3 separate regions of the Homo sapiens genome follow, and all the other regions are linked to region 3. The links are contacts of gene promoters, found by promoter capture Hi-C in human tissues and cell types (Jung and others, 2019). All regions are on one chromosome and are shown on one strand. Each heading gives the region's core, a stretch centred on a gene start or on the middle of the fragment in contact. The rest is flanking DNA. Distances are from core to core; before and after follow the strand shown. Region 1 overlaps PAK1 (p21 (RAC1) activated kinase 1). Region 2 overlaps PAK1 (p21 (RAC1) activated kinase 1). Region 3 holds the start of ACER3 (alkaline ceramidase 3).

Evidence for each region. The method cuts DNA at HindIII sites, captures the fragments that hold promoters and counts their contacts. A contact is called where the count stands out against the background at its distance.
Region 1: a fragment that was not itself captured here is called in contact with the fragment with the promoter of ACER3 in region 3 in 1 of the 25 tissues and cell types used here (dorsolateral prefrontal cortex).
Region 2: a contact is called between a fragment that was not itself captured here and the fragment with the promoter of ACER3 in region 3, in 1 of the 25 tissues and cell types used here (small bowel).

The regions. Positions count from the first base shown.
Region 1 is chr11:77,467,219-77,471,959 of GRCh38, forward strand. All of the region lies in intron 1 of PAK1 (p21 (RAC1) activated kinase 1), which reads right to left. Among named protein-coding and RNA genes, the nearest start is that of PAK1, 4.5 kb to the right of the region's middle. The HindIII fragment of the contact is 6,447 bases long and covers 1-4,741 here.
Region 2 is chr11:77,425,289-77,430,014 of GRCh38, forward strand. All of the region lies in intron 1 of PAK1 (p21 (RAC1) activated kinase 1), which reads right to left. Among named protein-coding and RNA genes, the nearest start is that of PAK1, 46 kb to the right of the region's middle. The HindIII fragment of the contact is 5,345 bases long and covers 1-4,726 here.
Region 3 is chr11:76,859,260-76,863,865 of GRCh38, forward strand. It overlaps ACER3 (alkaline ceramidase 3), which reads left to right and starts at 1,659. Exons shown (of 11, transcript NM_018367.7): 1 at 1,659-1,820. The coding sequence starts at 1,718. RefSeq lists silencers at 1,332-1,431, 1,472-1,731. The HindIII fragment of the contact is 20,791 bases long and covers 1-4,606 here.

The sequences.
Region 1 (4,741 bases), core at 360-2,859, 610 kb after region 3:
GTCACCTCCTTTAAGAATGCTTGCCAGGCCACCCCCATTTCAAGTGCAGCAGATGCCCTTCCTCTGTGTTCACATGGCACTTGCACTTATCTCCATATTTTTGTCATTTTTTGTCTCAATGTAGTGTAATTGTCTATGCACATGTCTGTTTCTCCCGGAAACTATAAACCCAAGGGTAGAGGCTATGATTCATCTGTTTATTCAGAACCTATGACAATGCCTGATGCATAATATGTATTTAGCAAATGAATGAACTTTAAATGGCAATAAAATATTACTTTTCATATAATACTTACATAAGACATTTATGCAAAACATTGTTAATATAAGGCAGTGCTTCTCAACTTTGCATATCAGAATCACCTATAAACCTTTCAAAATAGAGATGCCAAGGCAACTCTTTACATCTTCACAAGTAATTCAAGTGCATAGCCGAAATTAAAACCACTGCTACACACAATCATAGTCATAAAATTACAAACTACTCTACCTAACATCTATATAGCTCAGTATCTTACAATTCACTTTTACATATATTATTAATCTTCACAAGAATTCTGTAAGTTAGGTATTATTTCTTTCAAATGAACAAATAGAGATTTAAATAAGTGTCCAAGTAGCTCTTTGTCTAACTTCAAATTTTGTGCTCTTCCTTAAACCCTCCCTTGGTAAGTGCAGTAATACACAAATCAAGGGTTCCACCAGTGAGGAAGACATCAATCTTAGCTTTGTGGGAATCCAGGAGGAAATAAGGAAAGCTGGACCTTAAAGATATAGGCAGGCAGATGAGGGTGGAAGCCATGCATATACTGTCATTGTCATTTGCCATCCCAAAAGATTCAAAAGGCAGATTCTATAAATTAGAAAATGCTCTTGCCAGCCTCAGTTAGTACTTAACAGTCTGAAAGGGAAAGGGATATTGGAGAAGGCTGGAAGTAGAAAAGTAATAAAAGAAAGCAGCCCATAAACAAGAATGGATTTCCCAATCCTGCATGCAAATTACCTAACTCTGACTCCAGGAACAAAAGCCAAGACATAATGGACTTAAGAATTAGATGAATTCTACAGTCAATCAATACCACGAAAACTCATGAGGGATGAATGAACCTCTGGTTCTTTCTAGACTTACTACTACACTATTCCTCAAGAAGGGATAATCCGGAGAAGCCTAGCATATACATGACTTTCCCCATCTCAAAAACTAAAAGAATGGGAGAGAAGAGGAAGATATTCATGAAAGAAAAGGCTTACAAAAAGGGTAGAAAAATGTAGCACATTAAGTTAATAAATTTACGATGGCACAGGGAAATATTCAGGCACAAGTGATTCCAAATACTGGATAAAGCCTGATCTGGCAGCTTCAGTAAAGAGGTATTATCTTCTAAGTCTGCAACATCATGACCATCTGACATAGAGTTTTATCAGCAATTATCCTTTCTAGTTCAAACTGTGGACTTCAGTCAGGGTTTTCTTAGGGAGAAGAAGCTAAAGAGATTAGGAACCAATTTAAAAGAATGTGTCTAGTGCCCCAAAATTTAGTTTGATAGAGTTTAAAAGGCAATATGTTATAGTGGCAAAGTAAAGTACTACACTTAGAATTTTAAAATGTGGTTTAAAATCAATATTCAGGCATTCATTAATGATGTGCCTCTGAGCAAGCCAAGACTTCTATTAATATGATCCTCAGCCTGCTAACTCGTAAAATGGGAATACCTATCTCATAGGGCTGTTACGAAGATTGAACAAAATAACATCCAGGAAAGATGTTATTTTTCCTGTATGAATGATAAATGTAAACGAATGTAAATCTGTCTTCACCAAGCCTTCTAATACACACACAAAAAAAACATACCAAATGGAAACTTTAACTCTCACTGCAATATATTTACTTGCAAAACATTCCTATATCCTCTGTGCAGAAACATTAAAAGCAGCCTCTGTACTGAAAATAGCACATAGCTGCTGGAGTCAGGTGCACATGGACTAGAATTGTTGGTCTGCCACTTACTTGCAGCAAAACCTTAAATAAGCTCCCTTTACTAGTATGACTCTCAGGTTTCCTCACCTATGATACAGAGATACCAGCAATCATCTCATAAGGTTATTCTGAGGGTTAAAAAGAACATGTTAAACATCTCATATAGGGCCTGGTACAGAACAGGTATTCAGTAACATAAGCCATTTTTAGTAAGCTTACCACCACCTAACAACTAACAAGCAAATTATACTTTTCAAAGATTCCTTTATAGTCATTATTTTAATTGCTTCATGATCCTGTAAACTAGTCGTAGCAACTATTACTATCCCCATTTTACAGTTGGGACAAAACACAGAGATAAAAATTACTTCTACAAGGTCATGCAGTAACATAGACACTAAAGAAGGTCTCCTAACTTTTCCAGGGTTTCATTTTCACCCACTACAAATTACAACATTACCCCTTAGAAATTAAAACATCTGTGAAGAGACTTTTTTTTTTTTTTTAATAATGGGCATAGAAAATGACCCAGAAGGAGCAAACACTGGTGTGGGAGAATGTTTTTAAATTTTTTATTTTCAAGTTTGAATATACTGACTATTAATTTTGAATCAATGCATTTTTCCTTTTATTTTTAGTTGATATGTAATAATTGTACATATTTATGATATTTTGAGATGTATATAATTCGTAATAATCAAATCAGGATAATTAGCATATTCATCACTCCAAACATTTATCATTTCTTTATCATAAACAGTCAAAAGCCTCGTTTTTAGATGCATATTGTTTATCGCTTTTCAAAAATAAACAATAAACTGTAGTGAGATGTATTCTTTTGATAACCTTAAACTTGTCTCTTTACTATGCCAAAAAGAAATATTTTTCTCCCACTTTCTGGTTATTATTTAGAAAAATAACATGGAGAGGGATCAGAAAATTCATTAAAACCAGCAACAACAGAATTAATGTCTCAAATTGGCAACTGCTGATTCCACCTTGATTTTTGTTTTAGTTTTCCCCAACAAAGCCCATGACCTCTTAAAATTTTTTAAAAGTCTGCCTGTCAAAATGATGCTTGTTTGACAAATTATTCCTAAACTGAGGGAAACAAATAGAAAGGCAGCTTTCTCCCCCCCTTTATGATCATATACCACCTTTTTTCATCCCTCTATTTCATCTCTTCATTTCAGCACTTATCATGTCATATTATCTCTAGCTCCTTAAAGACTTGGGCTGCACTCTTGTATATAGCTGAACATCCTGCCCAGCACAGGGTCTGGCACATGGTGGAGAAGGACTCATAATTTTATAGTAAACGGATGAATAATTGAAGCCACTCTCCCAGAAGGAAGCTAGGAAAGGAGAAAACTGGGCATGGTATCTTAGGGCTAATAAGAAAGTGAAAGAAACAAAGCATTTTAAGAGCTTGACAAGGAAGAGAAACCTTTGTGTGGAGTCAAACAGGCCCTATATAGCTTTAAGTATCACCAGAGAAAGACAAAAACCACAGGAGACCAGGAAGAGACAGTTTTAAGTTAAAAGACTCAAAAGTTAAGAGTGCTTATTTAGACTTGCAAAACCAACTTGCAAATTCAAAAGAAACAATCCTGGCTTGGAATATTGCAACAGCAGTTTTCAGGTGGTGGTTAAAACAAACAAACGAACAAAAGACTAGGCTAAAAATTCTTGCAGGCTTTGGTTGGAGACACATAAAGGGAAAAGCTCAACCTAAAATGAATCCCCCAAAAATGTTAGGATCCCCTTGGATTTGCACATTGGACCATGATTCCTATTCATTCTGAGAACGGTTCTTGAGTAAAACCCCAATGTCGCAGCTGGCAATACATAGAATTAAATCATCTTACATTATTCATTCAACAAATACTTGAGTGCCTGCTATATGCAGTCACTATTCTAGGCACTAGGATTAAAGCAATGACCAAACTGACAAAACTTCCCAGTCTCAGGAAGCTTTCATTCTATTGGCAAGAGAGGGATGGGATGGGATGGGATGGGATGTCACGCAGTTAAGTGCTACGGAAGAAAAACGGGACAGCAGGAGCTGGCAGGGTGCTGGTTTTTATTAAGAGCAGATCTTTTAACCCAGTGGTTCTCAAACTTTAGCAAGCATCAGAATCATTTAAAGGGCTTATTAAAGAAAAGAAATTCACAGGCTACCAAAAAAAGACAGGCACAAACTCAAGTAATTGCAACAGAGCGCTACAGAAGGCCATAAAAGTGGTATGTACATGAGCCAGAGGATGGAAGAGCAACTCATTCTATGCAGGAAAAGGAGAGACTAAGGGACTGCATCCCAGAGGCCCAACAAGGTCATCTCCACAGGCAGGTAAGGGGTGGAAGGGAAGCATTCCAGGAAGAAAACAGAACATGCAAGAGTGAAGATGAGAGTGGCAGGGGAGCCACAGAAAGTGAGACTGCAAAGGCAGGCAGTGGTCTGATCCCTGAGAGCTTTTTATTCCATGTTACTCTGAAATTTATCTTCAGAATATGAAGAGTCAGGGGTAGGGGGCGCTGATGTGGTAAGGTTTTGTTTTACAGAAATCTTTCTGGATGCACAGTACCTTCCTTTGAGGCACTGCTTCCTTCAAACCTAGCACAGGGACTCAAAACATGTGCTTAGTAAATGTATATTGAATTGAACTGAACAAGCTTTTTACCAAATGCCCTGTTATGGATGAGGCAGGTCACCTTCCCTGCAGGACTCACTTTGGCCAAGAGAAGACTTGTAAAACAGGTCCA
Region 2 (4,726 bases), core at 1,333-3,832, 570 kb after region 3:
TAAAATCTCAATCTACTAAAATCTTTCTTCTCACTTTAATTAAGTTTGGACTCCAACTATGGTGTTCTACTCGGTCAGCCAAGGTTTCTAGAAAAGAGGCACCTTCTGTAAGAATTGACAGTTGTAAAAAGCTGCATTTATGTGGCAACTAATAAAGCACATTCATATCCATTATCCAATTAATTCTTACATACCCTCCTTTGAGATTTCTCCTCAGAAGCAATGCCCAGCCCCACGGCTATCTCTGTGGCACCCTCCTGGACCACTCCCACCACAGCCACCATTATCTTCTGCCACATACACATTTGTTATAACTCTTTTCACTTAAACTAATTATCTGTATCTCTTATCCTTAGTGAAATATAAACAGCTTGACAGAAGGGACAAGCCTAGCACCGTGTAAGGCATAGTAAATGCTCGACAATTATTTGCCAAAGTGAGTTAAAAAGAATAATTCATATTTCTGTTTAAATAAGGTAGAAACTGAGTTGACTTTCCCAAATTATCCTAGCTAAAACTACAAAATCAAGATATTCTTAGTGCAGTGGCTTCTGCGTATAATCCTAGCTACTTGGGAGGCTAAGGCAGGGGGATCGCTTGAGCCCACAAGTTCAAGGCTACAGTGGGCTATGATCACATAGCCTGGGTGACAGAGCAAGACCCTGTTTCTGAAAAAGAAAAAATACTCCTGGGTTCAAGGAATCTTCCCACCTCAGCCTCCCAAAGTGCTGGGACTACAAGCTTGAGCCACTGCACCAAGCCCATTCTTGACTTTTCAATTGAAGGCCTCTTTTTTTTTTTTTTTTTTTTTTTACACCACACGGCCCTCTCCTAAGACTTGTTAAGAACAAAAGGAGTCTCAGACTAGGAGTCAGAGGTCTCTGTTTTCAGACAAGCCACTCAACTTCTCTGAGTATCAATTTCCTTATTTGACAAATGGGAACCACCACCACCATCTTTTTTTCTCTGATCACAATATGAAGGTTATATAAGATAATGGAAGTAAACGTAGCTTTAGTGTGAAATTATGGCATATACTAAGCCAGGGACAATGCTTAGGTTGATGACTCCCACCTCCCACTGTTGGTGACAAAGTCAAAACCAGAGTCAACCCTACAAGAATCATATCATTTAACCTAATAACAGCCCTTTAAAAATTGGCTTTATTACCCTCATTTTACAGGTAAGAAAATCGGGGCACAGAGAGCTTAACACTTGCCAAAACTTATAAACCTAGTAAATATCAAGTTCATCACATTCTAAGGAGTTTTCCATGCTGCTCTCCAAACAATTATAGAATAAAAGCTTTCCTTCCTCTTCAGTTTCAATTAGCACCAGGCAGATGGAATAGTGCTAATCTTAAATTGGGAACATTCTACTGTGTCTCAGGCCAAATCAAAATAAGAGTTAGTCTTGTAGGTAAGTATACCTTGATTCAACCCCTGTGGAGGCAAAAATTGAATCTGTATATTAGAAAATATTCTGATCTCAATTTAGAAATTATTTTAATGAGACTGAAAACCTGACAGGAAAAGCAAAAATGAGCAATCTTTAAAAAAAAAAAAAAAAAAAATTCGGTGCTATGATTATGAAACACAAAAGAGCCTAGGCTTTGAAATCAGACAGTTCAATCTCAGGGTAGAAAAGAAAACCTGGACAAAGCCCCGGAAGAATGAATGATCAGAACAAGAAAAGTTCAAGATGCTGCTATGGCTGGAGCAAATGGGGTTGGTAGTGGGATCTAAAGAAATACAGACTCCTATCTTTCTCTTCCCCTCTAGAAACCCCCACATGCTACAAGGAACCTAGCCTGTGATGCTTCCCACACAGCTCCAAAAAGTGCAGACTGGTAAAGTCACTGAGAAAGTCTAAAACCCTCCTTTGCTGACACTTCAGCCTAAGTGTCTCTGCAGAGACAGACTGAGGGTCTCTGCAGGGATAGGCTGTCAGGAGACACATATCACAATGCTGGCCTTCAGACAATTTGGGGCAGGCTTTTTTAGTAGGATGATGTCACTGCTATTATTTGCAGCTTTAAATACCTATATTCCTGTAGCTAGGAATTATTTTATTTAGGATGACAGTGTAGATTTTTTTTTAAAGACATATTTGGAATTTACTAAAGAGGAGAATAGTGTGAATATATCATTTTCTCAGAAAGAGCTCTGGCACAGGGCAGATATCTAGACCCAAGGATGCCAGACTCCAAACCCTTTCTTGTAGTCAGAGCCTCTCAGACCTCAGTGGGACCTGTGAATGGACTTCAAATGAAAGCAACAGATTCACTGCTGTGGTAACTTCACCATCCAAAATTCATTCCCTTGACAAGTTCCATCAGCATTCCCTGAGGGTCTACTAGATGCAATGCCCTGTGTTGAGTGCATTCAAGGAGCAGCCAATGAATCAGAGGCAACAGATATGTAAACAGCTGATTGTGAAAAGAGAGAGAATGAAGTAAATACTCCATCAGAAGTAGAAAAAAAGGGGACTGTTTATGACTATAGAGGTCAGAGAGGTTTCACCAGGTAATTCCTTCCTCTTATTGTTATCTTCCTCACTGTATTCAGGCTCTGACATCCATAGCAGACATCTGAACTAGGACTCTGAGGGATTTTATCAGACAGTGAAGAGAGTTGGCTAAGCCAGACAGAGGAGAGGATAAAGGCAAAAAGCCAGAGGAGTAAATGTACTGGGGTATGTCTAAGGAGTAGCCAGTGGCGATAGTTGGAGTGCACAGTATACCAAGGAACTAATAAGAAATGAGGACGAAAGGTACCTTTGGGTCAGATACTAGAGATCCTTGAATGACAGCCCAAGGAACTTGAAATTTATTCTCTAAGCAAAAGGGAACTATTACAATGTTTTTAAGCAGAGCAGTGGCATGATTTGACTTATATTTTAGAATGATCACTCTTGCAGAAATGTGAAAGGTATAAGAAGATTGAAAGCAAGGAGATCAGTTAGGAGGCTTTGTGTTATAATAGTCTAGTTAAGGCCAGGCGCGGTGGCTCACACCTGTAATCCCAGCACTTTGGGAGACCGAGGCGGGCAGATCACAAGGTCGGGAGATCGAGACCATCCTGGCTAGCGCGGTGAAACCCCGTTGCTACTAAAAATACAAAAAAAGAAAAAAATTAGCTGGGCATGATGGCAGACGCCTGTAGCCCCAGCTACTCGGGAGGCTGAGGCAGGAGAATGGCATGAACCTAGGAGGCGGAGGTTGCAGTGAGCCGAGATTGCACCACTGCACTCCAGCCTGGGCGACAGAACAAGACTCCATCTCAAAAAAAAAAAAAAAAGTCTAGTTAAGAGATGATGAGGGCAGCCCAACACTGTGGTCAGACCTAAGCAGGGTGAGTCCATCAGGAGGGGGAGGAAGAGACAAGTAGTCTAGTGAGGAGAATCAGAGCCCAAGCAGGGTGAAAAGAGCATCCACATTTGGGGCAGGGAGGTGGACTGGTGTGGAATATCATAGTCTAAGTATAGCAAGGAAGGCATCCGTATCAGGAGAGAGGGGTGCCCTGGTGTAGTGTGTCAGAAGCCAACCACAGTTAAGAAAGAGTTGTCATGGAAGAGCACCCTGCTATAGGGTACCAAAGCCCAAGCAAGATAAGGAGGGCATCCACACAGTAGGGAGAGCCTGTGATGGGGGTGTCAGAACCTCATTTCCTCATTATGTCTATGAGAAGGCCTGGGAGCAGCAATGGTCCAATAACAATGAGCATTATCTAGGAACCAGATTTTGGATTCTAAATGCCATTTAATACTAAAAAAAAAAAAAAAAAAAAAAAAAAAAAAAAAAAAAACACACACACACACATCAGGATTCCTTGGCTGGTATAGAGAAAGTACAGGATGAACCTAGAACATCTTATTGGGCTAGAAAGCAAGGAAGTAGTCAAAGAATGATAGGGACATATCAAAAGTTGACAGAAGCCAACTTCTGATTTGGCTCCTACTGGCCAAACCAAAGAGAATTTGAGCACCAAAACAAATGATGCTAGCAATAGATTATTACCCATTAAATAAAATGAGTCCATACTGATATAAATAACTAAATACACTGAAAGTTTGGCAACGAAACGGATATTTACATAGTACTGCCTACAAAATACTTATTAATTATACAAGAGAAAAGAGTAACTTCACAGTGAAGAAGGCTGGTAGACACCACCTTAAGCAAGATGCTGAAATGAACATCAATAGTCATGGGACAAACCAAAACCACTACCATCTAAAAGGATGCAATGAAACGAATACAGCACCAGTTCTGTAATATTTACTACCAAAGAAGCATAACGTAAGACTGGTGATGACATTCTATAAAACACCTGCTTTATCTGATATTCTACAAAATAATTGGCCTGTAATCTTCAGAAGTGTCAAGGTTATCAAAGTTAAGGAAAGACCGAGGACACTAAAAAGATGTAGCTTCTAAATGTAACACGTGATTCTGAACTATATTCTTTTGCTGTAAAAGACAGTCGGACAATTGGCAAAGCTTGAATGGGTATGAGGATTAGATAATAGTAATGTAACAGTGTTTATTTCCTGATTTTGATGGTTGCATTGTACTTACACAACCATCTTATTATGTAGGAAATAATGTGGGGTTGATGGAGGGTCATGTCAGCAACTCATTCTCAAATGACCCAGAAAAACTAAGTTTGATATCGCTTTTTAAATTATTTTAATAAAAACAAAACAGATGATGAAGATCTAGAAT
Region 3 (4,606 bases), core at 409-2,908:
TGAGCTGAGATCATGCCAGTGCATTCCAGCCTGGCCGACAGAGCAAGACTGTCTCAAAAAAAAAAAAAAAAAAAAAAAAAGATACACTGCTTCCCTAGGTTTTGCACCTAGCAAATAAAAGTTCTGCATCTATTTCCTGCTAATTGGCTATGGTTATTTTGTAGAAAGGCTGTGGGCTCTTCATCTCTCCTTGTCCTCTCTTTTACCTTTGACTTGCACCACATCTGACTTATTTATTTAGAAAATAGCAGTTGTATCATCCTTCATTTTTACTCTTCATTTCTTACTGTGTATTCAGGCAGAGTCCTAATACTAAGACCATAAAGAAGGGAAAGCAAGGTCTCTGATCAGGATGTAGCACAGTAGGATGTGAACAAAGGGCAAGGAAGCTCTAGGGTGTAAACATCTGGGATGGCTTCAGAGAGCTGGATTTTAAAAGAAGAGTGGGGAGTTGGTCAAACGGAGAAGAGAGTTAGGCTGTCCCAGTTGAACTGTGGGAGCAAAGGCAGGTGACCCAGCGCATTCTAGGAGAGGGGAAAGTTTGAGTTTGGTGTAGCTGAACACTAGGGGCAAGGGTGGTTGCATCTGTTTTAGGAAGAGCTCTCTGGCAGACCTGTGGAGTACTAGACTTTTTATTTATTTATTTATTTATTTATTTATTTATTTATTTAGAGACAGGGTCTCGCTCTGTTCTCCCAGGCTGGATTGGCACAGTCTCAGCTCACTGCATGCAATCTCCACCGCGGGGGCTCAAGTGATCCTCCCACCTCAGCTTCTCAAGTAGCTGGGACCACACGTCTGAGCCACCGCGCCCAGCTAATTTTTGTATTTTTCGTAGACACGGGGTTTTGCCGTCTACGATACTCCCAGACGGGGGCTGGGAGTATTAGACTTGAAGTTGGAAGTAGGGGTAGGCTGTTGGTTGCCTGAAGAGCAGGGCACAATTATAGTTAGAACGTGGAAACCTCTGTGCTTGGAGGCCCAAACGAAGCAGGGAAACTTTGCTTTAGTGCTCTAGCTAGCAGCATTCTTTTTTTTTAGGATCTCAGAACCTACTTTTTTTTTTTCGGTCCTGGGTTGTTCACCCTTTCCCTTTGTACCGAAGAGACACTTACACCTTTATCAGAAAATCACGGTTTATTTCCTGAGAATCACGGGGATTGGTTGGGGGTACTCTGTTTTGGGGCTCCATTTGAGGCCTGTGGCTCAATGGAAGACATAGAGGCGCTTCGCCGCACAGGTTTAATCAAGCAAGGGCTTGATAGAAGTATTCATCCCACCCCCGCCCCGATTAAATCAAACCACACGCACACAAATAGAGGCTCTGGCACATCCTGACAGAATATAGCCTCTGGGATGTCAGGAACCCCCAACCTACGGCCATTGGCGTGTCTGCACCGGCCAGGAAGCCCAGGCCCCCGGCTCCTTCCTGGATCACGCCCCTGCCCCGCCCAAGGGTGAAGAGGGGCGGGGCCAGCCGGCGCCCTCCGAGTGGGCCTTACACCAGGTCGGGCCTGGCCCGGCCCCGCGGCCCAGCGGCGCCGGTGGGCGGGGCCTCCGTCAGGGCAGTGTCAGTAACGGCGCCAGGCCCCGCCCCTCGGGGAGGCAGGGCCGGGCGGGGCGCGAGCGAGCGCGCGGGCTGGGCCGGAGCCGGCCTGGTCGCCAGCCTAACCCGGCACAGTGAGCGGAGCGCCTGGGCGGCGGCGGCGGCGGCGTGATGGCTCCGGCCGCGGACCGAGAGGGCTACTGGGGCCCCACGACCTCCACGCTGGACTGGTGCGAGGAGAACTACTCCGTGACCTGGTACATCGCCGAGTTCTGTGAGTGTGGCCTGAGGAGGGGAGTGGGGGCGAGAGGGCACCGGGCTGAGGAGACGCCGTGTGAGGAAGGCAAAGAGCGAACCTGGCCGCGAAGGGAGGTGCCAGGCCTGGCCCCGGGAGCTGGAATGCGGCGCCCTGGGCCAGCGGGAGGCTGAGAGGAGCGGGCCGGGAGTCCAGTGTGTAGAGGGAGGAGTACCGGGGTCTGGGAGGGAGGAAGGGGGCCTGAGGATTGGGGGGGCAGAAGAGCAGTGGGAAGTGGGGAGCCCCTGCTGGACCTAAGGGGGAAAGCCTGAAGAGCCGGGTTGGGAATGGGAATTCCTGCCCGAGAGCGGAGTGGGGCCAGGCTGGGAGAGTGGAGGACCCTGCCCCTTGGAATGAGGGCCCAGGACACCTGCTCTGCTGTTGCCACCACCAGAAGGGTACAGTTCCTAGCTTCGTCTTTCCCCCAATCCGTGAGAATTCTACCGTCTTTCCCTTCCCTTTTCACTGGAATATTAGACCTCCTTGCTCACCTCCAGGGAACAGTTTCACTAGTCTGAGATCTGAACCATCCCACCCCTATCCCCCAGGATGTCTTCAAGTACCAGAGGTCATCTGCTCTCTGAGTATGATTATTCAACTGTCATCTTGCACCAGGAGTCGAAGGCATCTTGCACCTAGCCTGTACCTTCTGCCCCTGCCAGGCTCCCAAGAGCACAGAGGACCAAGTCCCTGCTCCATTCTGTCCTATCCAACTATCTAGGAGTTAGGGGTCATCTGAGGACACTACTTCCACCGACTGCACCTTCTGAGGATTTAAGCATTCTTCTTTAGCGGCTGCTCTGTCAGGCACTGCTGGTCAGGTTGGGCTTGTTCTGTGTGCCTATGTGGGTGTCTGTCTGTTTTCCTAGACGATTTTTCCTGCCAGGCTAGGAGAAATCTGCCACTTCTTTTTCTATCATTTAATCAGGTTTTGAGAGCACAATATTTGATCCTTCTTTTAGGTACCTGCTTCTGGCAAAGTGCAAAGACTATCCTTTGGCTAATGATTACTGCCTTCTTTTAGTTGGATCTACTTCTCAGGACGTGAAGTGAAACTCTTCTTAGCTAACCTTCTCATTGTTGAGTCCTGTTCTCAGGCATCTGTGCATGGCTTTGTAGGAAAGAGGCAAGCATATCATGACAAATGGTCCCACTTTATTCTGTTCTGGTAATTGGCTAAGTTTCAAAAAAAAAAAAAAAGAACACTTTTTGCAGTTTTCAGGACTTTAGTACTATTCTCTTATGACCATGATTTAGGCTAAGAGTCACTTTTCTTCAACTATTAAATTAATAATTTTTACATAATCATGGAGAAATATTGGCAAAGGGATCATTTGTAATACAATTACTTGGGAACCCACATGTTGGCAAAGGAAGCGCTTTACCAGTTTGTTGTTAGATCACTTTGGCAAGCCCATGCCTGGTCCAGAGAACCATGACCACGAGGAAAGAGATGTAAAACCATGCACTCTGCGCTGGAAATGTGTAACATGGAAAAGAGGAATTCAAGAGTCTTCAAATATTGGATGGGCTATCATATAGAATAATTTTTTTTTAATTTATTTGGAATCTGGAATTAGGGCATATGGGCAGAAACTAACTGTAATGGGGAAAAGTTTGCTTCAATATAAGGAAAAACCTTCTCACCAATGATATGGGAAAGGTTGACTTGGGGGACAGAGGACTTTCTGTCACTGAAAGTGTTAAATCAGACATTGTTCAATGAACTCAATATTTTCGAAGGAAAAAATTATTTAATAGAGAAAAGGGGCTGGCCTTAGTTGCAGCTTTATGGGTCTATGTAGGTAATAATGACTCTTAGTTTAGAACCAAGAAAAAACTGGGCTGGGCATCGTGGCCCATGCCTGTAATCCCAGCACTTTGGGAGGCCAAGGCAGGAGGACTGCTTGAGGCCAGGAGTTTGAGTCCAGCCTGGGCAACATAGTGAGACCCTGTCTCCATAAAAAATAAAAAAAATTAGATATGCATGGTGGTTTGTGCCTGTAGTCCCAGCTACTTAGGAGACTGAGGTGGGAAGATCACTTGAGCCCAGGAGTTCAAGGTTGCTGTGAGCTGTAATTATGCCACTGCACTCCAGCCTGGGCAAGAGTTAGACCCTATTTCTACAAAAAAAATATAAAAAATGCAAAGAGAGAAAACTGGCGGTAAGTCATGTGGACTCTGAGAGAGCAAGATACTGTGTTCTGGCAGATAGCTCTGAGAAATGGGAAATGACATTTGTTCTCAATGTGCTCAGAAGAGGAAACTCTGAGCAGACTGCAGGGAGGGTTTTGACATAGGAATCAGAGGGGTTGCAAGAAGAGGATGAGTGAATGTTTGCAGCCCTTTGCGCATGCACCTTGGGAGAAAATCATCTGGAGGAAGTTGAGGTCAAGTCATCTTACCATAGCAAGTCATGAGTATCTACAGTAATATATCTTGGACTAAGATAATTTGATCTTTGAAAAATATGCTGATTAATAATAATATGTTTAAAATATGTGTTTAAAGCAAGTGCAATATTAACATCACGATAGTATTTACATTAACAATAGTATTGATGGTAATATTAAGGATAATGTAATAATAGCTATTATCTAAGTGGTCACTTGTACTACACTTTGCTAAGCACTTCATATATCTTATCTCTTTTGATCTTTACAGTAATTTCAAAAAGAAGGTATTATTATCCCCATTTCAAAGATAAGGAGATTGAAGTTCTAAGAAATAATTTACCTAAGATTACAGTAAGTGATGTAGAGATA